Regions from separate parts of the Homo sapiens genome. Here all the other regions are linked to region 3. Evidence: promoter capture Hi-C in human tissues and cell types (Jung and others, 2019). All regions are on one chromosome and are shown on one strand. The core of a region is centred on a gene start or on the middle of the fragment in contact, and the rest is flanking DNA. Distances in the headings are between cores, read along the strand shown.

Evidence for each region. Contacts are between HindIII fragments. The study calls those that stand out against the background at their distance.
Region 1: a contact is called between a fragment that was not itself captured here and the fragment with the promoter of WDR53 in region 3, in 1 of the 25 tissues and cell types used here (mesenchymal stem cells).
Region 2: a contact is called between a fragment that was not itself captured here and the fragment with the promoter of WDR53 in region 3, in 1 of the 25 tissues and cell types used here (lymphoblastoid cells).
Region 4: a fragment that was not itself captured here is called in contact with the fragment with the promoter of WDR53 in region 3 in 1 of the 25 tissues and cell types used here (mesenchymal stem cells).

Annotation. Positions count from the first base shown.
Region 1 is chr3:197,119,365-197,122,064 of GRCh38, reverse strand. It overlaps DLG1 (discs large MAGUK scaffold protein 1), which reads left to right. Exons shown (of 25, transcript NM_001366207.1): 12 at 2,535-2,655. Among named protein-coding and RNA genes, the nearest start is that of MELTF, 91 kb to the right of the region's middle. The HindIII fragment of the contact is 7,210 bases long and covers 1-2,700 here.
Region 2 is chr3:197,307,906-197,310,605 of GRCh38, reverse strand. No RefSeq gene overlaps it. Among named protein-coding and RNA genes, the nearest start is that of DLG1, 11 kb to the right of the region's middle. The HindIII fragment of the contact is 4,492 bases long and covers 1-2,700 here.
Region 3 is chr3:196,567,287-196,569,986 of GRCh38, reverse strand. WDR53 (WD repeat domain 53) reads left to right here and starts at 1,433. Exons shown (of 4, transcript NM_182627.3): 1 at 1,433-1,468; 2 at 2,680-2,700. It overlaps FBXO45 (F-box protein 45), which reads right to left and starts at 1,327. Exons shown (of 3, transcript NM_001105573.2): 1 at 685-1,327. The coding sequence starts at 1,002. RefSeq lists enhancers at 1-74, 2,092-2,700 and silencers at 415-709, 831-1,370. The HindIII fragment of the contact is 3,803 bases long and covers 1-2,700 here.
Region 4 is chr3:197,099,574-197,102,273 of GRCh38, reverse strand. All of the region lies in intron 14 of DLG1 (discs large MAGUK scaffold protein 1), which reads left to right. Among named protein-coding and RNA genes, the nearest start is that of MELTF, 71 kb to the right of the region's middle. The HindIII fragment of the contact is 3,098 bases long and covers 1-2,700 here.

The DNA.
Region 1 (2,700 bases), core at 106-2,605, 550 kb before region 3:
AACTTAACGATAGTGTCCTGAAATTTTTCTGTCTTGTAATGTTTCAGAATGTTATTTCATCTCTAGATGTTTTGTTGAATTTTCCAATGAAGCTATCTATCTGTCTGGCCCTGGAGTTTTCTTGGGAAGGATTTTAGTTCTGAATGCATTTTCCTTAGCAGACACAAGAATGTTCAGATTTTCTTTCTCTTGTTACCTAAGAGGACTAGATAACATTTGATTTTTTTTTTTTTTTTTTTTTGTGGTGATTGTCAAGCATTGATGGAGGGGATGTTTCTCACAGAGGCAGCCTTGCAAGTGAGCAGATGTCAAAATTGGAAAACAATTTTTGTACTAGTTAGAAAAATATTTTTAGCAAGAATAGTAAAAGAAATAGGGAAGATCATAGAAGTTATACATGAACTATAGAAGATAAAGAGCCACAATGTTTATAACCAAAATAAGGTAGTCAAAATATGATACTCAGGAATAAAAGTAGGAAAAAAAAGAAGTCTGTTGAATCTAACAGAGAATACAGTTTCTCTGCCGACATTAAAATGTTCCTGTTTTTTACAGTATATATTTTCTCGCTTTTAACTTATATTCTCTTTAGCTGCATGGCCTTGCTACTTCTGATTTGGACACCAGTCTTTTCCCATTCTCACTTCAAGCTCTTCTACTTGCTTTTCTATAAAATCTTATAGTGTTGAATCATTCATCTTAATATATAAGAAAAATGAATTAGGCACTCTTGTGCTTCTCTGGGGGACCTTTTTACATAAGATTTGGGGTATAAGAAATAGTACTGTTTTATCTGATCCTTCTTTGAGGCCGTCATTTCTTTCATAGGAACATTAATTTTTAGTCTCTGTTGTCTGAGAGTATGTGGTACATGTGAGATTAACTGCCCCAGAAAGGATGCATTGACTAAAGGGATAGTCTGGATGTGTCAGGGAAAATGTATATTTTCTGGTTTGGGCATTTGACTGGATTTCTTGTCTAGTTGTTTTTTTTGTTTCATCTAAATATGAAAATGCAGCAAAAGAATTTAAGAGTCAAAAATCAGTAAACTCTGGATTTTTAACAGGCTAGTGATTGTAGAGGTTCACGTGGGTATCTATTGATTGAGGGCTACATACCAATTCACTTGAAAATCCCATATTCTTACTGACCACCCAGGAAAGACTTTGGACTTTCAAAGTTAAGAGCCATTGGTAGAAAGTCCTTTGGCTCAAATACAAACGAGCATCTTATATATGAACTGGATAGGAAACAATTGCTGTTGGATACTGCAAACCTGTAATATCAATAGATACACTGCATCTCTAAAATACTATCGTTTCAGTCATTTCCTGTTGTCTTTCATCCAGTTCACTTTATTCCTTTATGTTACCTATCTGGCCACTATAGTAATTTGAACTAATAATTCCTGCATTTTTGTACTCCAGTGCGTAGTATGCTGCTTCCCTCCATAGAAGATATGCTCTAATTTAATAAAAAAGAGATTAATGCTTGATAATTAAATAATACAGCTACTTTTGAAGTGCTTTGTAACTTTATCATAGTTGAAGCCTCAAGAAAGTTAAATATTGCTTCCTCTGTGTTTTGGTAATGATTGGAATAATTCAAGTGTCTTATGTCTTTGTAAGCTACAGCTGCCATGTGTTACCTACCTGTGTCTTTAGAAAGCATGGTCAGGAATCACTATAATTTTCTGTTATTAGCTTTTGCTAGAATGGAAAACCTATATGTGGTATTTATTACTATTGAAGTGAACCAACGTTTGGTTTTTGCTTTTTTTTTTTTTTTTTTCTTTCTCGAGACAGGGCATCTCACTCTGTCACCTACGTAGGCTGGAGTGCAGTGATGCGATCTCGGCTCACTGCAACCTCCACCTCCCAGGTTCAAGCAATTCTCCCACCTCAGCCTCCCGAGTAAGTGGGACTACAGGCCACACCACCAAGTCTGGCTAATTTTTGTATTTTTTTGGTAGAGATGGGATTTCACCATGTTGGCCAGGCTGGTCGCGAACTCCTGACCTCAGGTGATCCGCCTGCCTTGGCCTCCCAAAGTGCTAGGGTTACAGGCGTGAGCCACTACGCCTGGACGACAGTTTTTGCTTGTTTTTCGTTTTTGCTTTTTACCAGGTTTTTATTCTTCTATGGGTGAATTTAAAAGCATAGATGTAAATTAGGTTGACAGATCTGAGCTAGTATAAGGACATAGTCTTTTCGCACTTATTGGAAAGCCTCTGATTTTTATTATTCACAATCAAATTTGGACTGTATATAATTCTTTAAGTAATCTGGGTGTGGTGGCTTATGCCTGTAATCCCAACACTTTGGGAGGCTGAGGTGGGAGTATCACTTCAGGACAGGAGTTTGAGACTAACCTGGGCAACATAATGTCCAGTTTTTTGGCTGATGAGTAAATCTTCTCTACCAAATTCTGATATATAAAGGAGTGCATATAAATTACACATTAATCACTCATAAATGGAATACTGATTGGCTTGTTTCGTGTTTGAAGTATTTTTCACTTTGTTTATTTTGAAGCTTCTTCTCAGCCTGTTGATAACCATGTTAGCCCATCTTCCTTCTTGGGCCAGACACCAGCATCTCCAGCCAGATACTCCCCAGTTTCTAAAGCAGTACTTGGAGATGATGAAATTACAAGGTAAGGAAGTTAACATTTATCCTTCTTACATAAAATCAACTATTA
Region 2 (2,700 bases), core at 149-2,648, 740 kb before region 3:
GGCGGGTAAATCTCCTGAGGTCAGGAGTCCGAGACCAGCCTGGCCAACATGGCAAAAAATTAGCCGGGTGTGGTGGCGGGTGCCTGTAATCCCAGCTACTGGAGAGGCTGAGGCAGGAGAATCGCTTGAACCCAGGAGGCGGAGGTTGCAGTGAGCCAAGATCCCTCCATAGCACTCCAGCCTGGGCGACAGAGTGAGACTCCAACTCAAAAAATAAAAAATTTAAAAAAAAATTTTTTAAAGCAATCTTCTCCTAAGGAATGGTGATTTCTGGAGTAAAAACTTTCTCTGAATAGGAGTTTCCCTTGCTCACTCCTGCACCAGCCTTCTCTCCATGACCAAATTCATAAGGCACTCAGCAAGACTCTGTGCTCAGAGCCCAATTGCAACACACAGTACAATTATGCTGACCATGCCAAATACTTTGGCTTTGGAGAATAGATCTATTAACCCCAGCAACGTGGTTGTGTTCCTCAAGCGATCCTAGCCTAAGAAAAGACATGTGAATAGCCTGACCTCAGAGTCACCCTGGCCTGAGCTTGCCCTCAACCTGATCTGAACTTCCTGGCACTTGGGACCAGAATAATAGCAGTCACACCTGAGTTTCCAGTATAAGGTCACAATGCAAAGAAGAGAATCAAAAACACTGGTCCGAGAAGATCTTCCAAATCCCTTCCTAAATGAAGTGGTTAGATCAGAGATTTATGTTTGAGTTTTTATTCTCTCCTGATTTGTTCACAATTAACTTGCAAAGCTGTGTTAATAGGCAGCTTCATGAACAGAGATCCCAGAGGTTAGAGACCAATAAGAATTGTACAGTATTGCATCATTTCCTTGGGAAATTCTTCAAATTAAGCCACTAGCTGCATTCTTTTCTGGCTCAATTTAGGGTCACCAAACCATAGAAAAGAATGATTCACCAAACAAACTTTTGCTTTTCCTTTTCTGGTGCTTCATTTAACCGCTTTATGCCTCAGAGTAAAGCTATTATAATGGCATTATCCTTCTAATGAGGAACAGTGCAATGCTTTCCTGATGTTAATACCCAGAATTATGCAGTGTTTAAAAGCCACCGTGACTTTAGGGAATACTCACTAAGTTTTCTATTGCAAATACCCTAGTCATATTGAAAATGAATGAGTGTAATTCTTTTGGTGTTTTTAAAAAACGTACAATTCTTTTAATAAATCATAGTTCCCAAAAGGAATAAGAATGGTTCATTAGCAGTACTAATGAAAATTCCATCTTCAGTAAAACTTAGCAGAATATCATTCCCTGTAACAAAATGTTTTCAGACACTTTGTTTGCCAACTTTATTAATGGAGAACTTTGTGGTCTAGATTAGAAAACTGAAGATAATTGAGAGAAAGAGAAAGAAAGAGAAACCATCCTAGACAAGCAGTTATATGTATCATTTAAAAAATAATGGCTCAAACAATAGTGTCACAAATCTTCAGAGGTAATGAGAAATTTTTAAAAAAATTAAAAAGTGGCATAAAAAACATTGTTCTTAGTAAAATTCTTTTCCAGGCATTATATTTATTGCTGAGGTGTTCTCTTCATCCACTCGTTCGTGTTTAGCCAAGCAACCTTGAGAAGTTCGAAGTTGTTTGCCTGCTACAGACCATAAACAAAGACGGAAGATTTGAATTTTCAAGTCCCAAGGCTTCAGCTTTGCAATTTCCTTCTCAGACAAATTTTCCTAGAGAAATAGAATTTGTTTTAGTTCCTGGCTCATAGTAGTTGCATCATACAGATTAGTTTACTGAATGACCTGATGAATAAGGCTTTTATTAAAGTAGCAGACTAAACAATTTTTCTGTCTGTTTTTAGGAACTTTCCCTGTCTGTGGAAGTAAGTGATGACCACCTGAATGAGAACAGAGGCTATTTATACAGAGCTTGCTATAGCGAGGGAGTGAGCACCGTCACTTGCATTTGGCAGAGGCTCAAAGGCAGGCAAGGGAGTAGGAAAGCTTTATAATTAAAAGAAGAGAAAAGGAGATCCTCAGGTATGGAAAAGCTGGAGGCAAGATAACTAGAAGCAAGGCATTTTGTATGATTGATTTAGGGAGAATACTTGCCTTTCTCTGATTGGCCTTGAGTTGAAAGATGGTAAAAATTAGTGAAGCTGGGCCGGGCGTGGTGGCTTACGCCTGTAATCCCAGCACTTTGGGAGGCCGAGGCAGGCGGATCACGAGGTCAGGAGATCGAGACCATCCTGGCTAACATGGTGAAACCCCGTCTCTACTAAAAAATACAAAAAAAATAGCCGGGCGTGGTGGCGGGTGCCTGTAGTCCCAGCTCCTCGGGAGGCTGAGGCAGGAGAATGGTGTGAACCCGGGAGGCGGAGCCTGCAGTGATCCGAGATCGCGCCACTGCACTCCAGCCTGGGCGACAGAGTGAGACTCCGTCTCAAAAAAAAAAAAAAAAAAATAGGGAAGCTGGCAGTCATTGACCAAGTTCTGATTATTTTAGGCCAATTACTGCAGTGGTTGTTGTCTGATTTCCTGGGTTGCTTGCTGCAGAGGTTGTGGATCACAGAGTTCTGTTGTCATATATGGTCTGGTGTGTATTCAGTCTTTCATCATATATAGCAATTTCTTGAATTACTTTCTCATCCCAATCCCCCTTGACATTTCAAAATGTAGTGGCACGCAAAGTGACTTGCCAACTTGTTTAAATCCATTCGTTTTTGTTT
Region 3 (2,700 bases), core at 184-2,683:
ATAGAAAAAGAGAGACACCATCAATGTGGAACTATTAAAAAGTTAGCAAGGAAACAGCCAATAACAGCAGGACAAAGCAGTATGTTAGGTGGTGCCCGTGGACGTTCTATAAAAGCCTGTATCTTGTAAGTGAGCAGGATGACTAGAACTACACTCACTTGTAAGCCTCCAATATAGTGGAGGGAACTAAAGAGAACTTGGGGGAAAATAATGAAAACAAATGGTTAAAAATCAGAGCTTGGAAAAGATGAGATAAACGTGGAGTGAAAGCAAACTAGAAACTTAGAAACTTAGAAACTAAGCCCATGTTAAGGTGGCCGGGATTATTTAATATAATGAAGTCTATCTGGAGGCCGGGGAGAAAAGTAGGATGAGGGCATTAAAAGGTACAAGAGTGGTGGTCTGTCTTTAACGGGGAAAACTGTCAAAAGTTGAATGAGTGAGGCAAACTACCTAGTTGTTTGAAAAGTGGATCACGGAAGTGGGATGGGTTAAGGAGCAGAACTTCGATCCAAAGAAAAGAGAATCTTTATCTTGGGGGGAGGTGAGGAAGATACTGACTGGAGCCGTGGAAAGGCGGGCTGGTGAGGCGAAGCTTCTGACTCAGAAGCTCGGATGAGAAACACCGCGAACGACGCCGGGGAGCGGGACTGGGGGCAGCGGTGTGGCCCGGGGCTCTCTCACCTTGGCCTTGTAGCTGGGCAGGTTGCACAGGATGTCCGTGCGCAGAGCCTCTTCTGCCAGGCTGCGGGCGCACAGGCTCCGCCACACCTCGCTGTTCTCATCGCCGTGCAGGCAGCGGTACCAGTGCTTGCACACCAGGGCGCAGCTCCGCAGCTCGGACAGCTCCAGGTAAGAGAACACCAACTCCAGCACCCGGCTGGGCAGCCGGCCCCCGGCCCCCGCGGCCCCAGAGCCCGAGCCCGCGCCCGCGCCCGCGCCGCCGCCGCTACAGCCAGCGCCGCCCGAGGCTGCCCCAGCCCCCGGGGCCGGCGCCGCCATCGCCTCACCAGCCGGCCCTAGGGCCGCCGCTGCCGCCGCCGCTTCCCGCCGTCTCTGCTCGGAAGGCCAAGCCTCGCCCGGAGACCGGAGCGGCTCGCTCACCGCCCCTGTCAGTGCCAACCGCCGGCGCCTCCACCACTCCCGCCCCTGCCCGGGGGCGTCCGCCGCGCGCCCCGCCTCACTGAGGGCAGACGCACCGGCTGCAGGGGCGTCCTCCGCCCCTCCTCCGCGGCTCAGCGCGGGCGCCGAAACCGCCCGACTCGCCCGGCCTCTCCGCGGCGCGCCAGCGGCTCCGCCATGCGGGTTGAGGGCACGAAGCAAGGGCGCACGCCCAGCTCGTTCGCGGTTCCTCTCGGCCCCGGATGTGACTGTTTGGCTGCGCCGCCTCACGCCTGACGCTCGACGGGATTGGGCGCCGGCGGGTGAGGTTATCACTAGGCGCCGAGGAGGGGAGCGGGAAGCGCAGGTATGAGGCTGGCGCCGGTGGCTTCGATGCTGCTTTCCGGTGACTTCGATGCTGTTTTCCAGTGCTTTTTCCTTTTTCTGGTCTGGTGGCTCCGCGTCTGCTCTCCTGGGCTCCCTTTCCTGTGACGTTTCCCTGTGTCCGTTAGGTCCTTGCTTCAGACTCCAGCTCAACGCATGAAACTTTTCTCTCCTTGCTTGCCGGGTCCTGGCTCCCCAACCTTTTTGTGTAGCTTGGGCAGCGGAGGCCGTCTTTACCTGGTCAGGCCCTCTCGTTCTCCCTAAGTATCGGCACTTAGCGAACGTCTGTCCCTGTGTGCCTTCGCAAAGTAAGGTGGCTGCGACTGAACACCCCCTCGCCCAAACGTTCGAGTGCCATTTGAGCGCTAATTAAGTGCTGCCGTCTTTTGGACAAGATGTGGTCTTTACTGGATCCACCGCTTAGTAAGCAGATGAAGGCAATGTAGTTTTAGTCAATTAAACATTCCAATAGGGAGAATGACGTGGAGGCTATAATTATAGATGGATTCTTGGAAGGGGAAGAATTTCAGCATCCCAGCTTGGGCAACATTGCGAGGCAGTGTCGCTACAAAAAAATAGAAAAATTAGCCGAGGGTGGTGGCGTGCGCCTCTGGTCCCAGCTACTTGGGAGGCTGAGCCCGGGAGGTCGAGGCTGAGGTGAACCGTAATCGCCCTGCTGTGCTCCAGCCTGGGCGACAGAGTGAGCCCCTACCTCACACACACACACACACACACACACACACACACACAAGAATTTCAGCATTATTTGATTATACTACGATTTCCTAGGTGGCCCCAAAGTTTTCCGACAGCCTTTAAAGCATGCTTAGTAAGAGAATAATAATAACCATCATTTGAGCCACGGTGTGAACCAGGCACTGTATACTACGTCATTTACGCAGATTTTTATATACGTAATCCTCAAAACAACTCCATGAGCTGAGTAATTAAAATAATAGGGTTCACAGACTCCCTTGGTCAACTCCAATGTCTTGGAACCTTTATGTAGTAAGAAATCTTTTCTGAAGCTTCTTGCTATGTATAATCCATTTCTTAGTCTCTAGTAAAAGCAAAGGAACGGTGGCTACCTTCCCTACCCTCTGATTCATGGTGTTTGATTATTATTTGCCTGTCCCTTCTCCTCATGTCTTTTTCACCAAGTCCAGTAACCCTAATTCTTTTCATTCTTACCAGTGCCAGCGCCACAGCCCTTCA
Region 4 (2,700 bases), core at 148-2,647, 530 kb before region 3:
TAGTCTTCCAAAAAAGTACTTTTATGGGTTTTTCAGCTTGTGTACTTTGAACTTTCTTGACTTGGATTCTGATTATGAGAAAAAATAATCTCTACAAGACATATGAAGGAACATTATCTTCTAACTCCTTTCAGTTTTATTAATTCCAAAGGCAAGGAATAATTCACTTTGGGGGGCCTTTACTGTTAATCTTTTTGGAGAATCATTATCAGAAATTAGCTGGACGTGGTGGCTCAGGCCTCTAATCCCAGCACTTTGGAAGGCCTAGGTGGGAGGATTACTTGAGCCCAGGAGTTCGAGACCAGCCTGGGCAACATAGCAAGATCTTGTCTCTGCTAAAACTTTTTTTAAAGTTTTTTAATTAGCCATGCGTGGTAGTGCGCACCCGTAGTCCCAGCCAAGGCAGGATTGCTATGATCTCACCACTGCACTTGAGCCTGGGCGACAGAGTGAGACCCCGTCTCAAAATAAAAATAAAAATAATCGAACATGGGAACTGGAAATATAATACTATACTCGTTTTGGACTCCATATCCCAAAGTTATAAAGTTTTATCACATACTTCCTATAGTTTAAGAATCTCTTGGCCAGGCGCGGTGGCTCACGCCTGTAATCCCAGCATTTTGGGAGGCCTAGGCGGGCAGATCACGAGGTCAGGAGATAGAGACCATTCTGGCTAACACGGTGAAACCCCGTCTCTACTAAAAATACAAAACCAAAATTAGCCAGGCGTGGTGGCGGGCACCTGTAGTCCCAGCTGCTCGCGAGGCTGAGGCAGGAGAATGGCGTGAACCCGGGAGGCCGAGCTTGCAGTGAGCCGAGATCACGCCACTGCACTCCAGCCTGGGCGACAGAGCGAGACTCTGTCTCAAAAAAAAAAAAAGAATCTCCTGTGATAGTATATAATAGTAAAACTGTACGCCATGCATGATACGAACCATGTTATGTTTATTCACTCTTTTAACTCCCAAGATAATCCTGTAAGTAAGCACCGTTATCCCCGTTTTACGTTGTAGTTGAATAAGCTCTTCCATAAAGAGACCAAGTAATTTGCTAGTTACACAACTGTTAAACGGTTAAGATTTCTTCTAGCCCCTTTTAAGCGAAGAAAAACCTTTTCCTCCACCCTTGTATGTTCAGTAACGGGCCTGTGAAGTAAACTGACAAAAAAAACAGATTAACATGGAAAAAAAGTTTCTTGTATATGGATGCAAGAGGCAACAGAAGAAATACTGAAGCTAGCTTGTGGATGAAGTTAAAAGCTTGTACACCTAATCTAGTAGGGAAAGGAAGGAGGGAGAAACAGCTTTTATTAGAAAAACGTACATTTCTTCAGGAAAGACAAGTTTTTAGGAGAAGAGATGGGGGATAAAGTTTGTGATGACATTTGTCTAAACTGGTATGACTGGTCTTTCCATTCTTCGGGGCCATCAGACTCCTCAGAGGGTATTTATGGTAACTTCATTTCTCGGAAGCTGCACCTTTTAGTCAGATTAGAGAAACTCCGAGAAGGCTTTTTTCCTGCATCTGTTGAATCTCAGATATCTTCAGCTTAAAATCTTTGTGGCAACTCTGGGGTTCTGGGTGGGTCTCCATACCCTGTTCTTACTCTTTCAACTACTCATTAAACTCTTGGAATCTCTCACCTCAAATATTTAATCTTATTGTTCCTCAAGAGTATTAGGCCAACTTTCAGAGCTTATATCTCAATCTTTTGTTCAGAAAGCATTAATTATATTGTAATAATACCATAAAAGAAATAAATTGGAAAGAAACTCAATATATAAGTTAAATTTATTTTCTCTTTCCCATTGGTTAGGTCTTATATTTGTGACATATTTTATTTTCGCAAGAAAAAAACTGTTTGGTGGCATAATCCCTATTTTGCAAGTGACCAGAGTCTAGAGAGGTTAGGCCATAGTCACTTAACTTTTCTGCGCTTCAAAGCTTTGATTGAAATCTTGAGTTACAAAGGTAGATTTCTAACACCCAGTGTCCTGACTTTATTTTCATTATTACTTCTTATACCAACCAAAGGGAGAAGAGGTGGAGATAATCTGGGAAGATTGCAGTGGACTAGTGGCATTTATTTGCAGACATTTGTCATTTCTTATCATTTTCAGTAGTAGATAGGTAATTAAAATTTTTTTCAGTCTCCTGCTTTCCCACTTCCCTTGCTGTATTTTTCTACGCGCCTGTGCTGCAGTTGACCCTTGAACAACACAGGTTTGAACTGCGAGTGTCCACTTACGCACGTGCTGTTCAACCAAACTGGGATAGAAAATGCCATATGCCTGTCAGATTCCACAAGGCCTCCTGTTAGACTTGAACATGCACGGGTTTTGGTATACGTGGGGTTCTGGAACTAATCCTCCGAGTATGCCAGAGAGCTATTGTACTTAAAACAACTAACTGGCCTTCTTAAAAATAGTTTCCCTTTTTCTTTAGGCCAATTAATAGTATCCATCCTCTGAGAATTGTTTCTCTTGGGTTTAATATCTGTGTTTAATGTATTTTATTACAGTTATAAATGAATGTTTTTCTTTATAGGGATTGCATGTTAAGAAGAGATTGAGGAAGTCCAATTTCCCCCATACCCCTTCCTCACTTTTTACTTCTAGTGTGGCGGTGAAAACAAAGGTTAAAATTTGAAAGGGGATATCAAATGAAAAAATCAGCTTTTAAATATCTCTCCTTGTA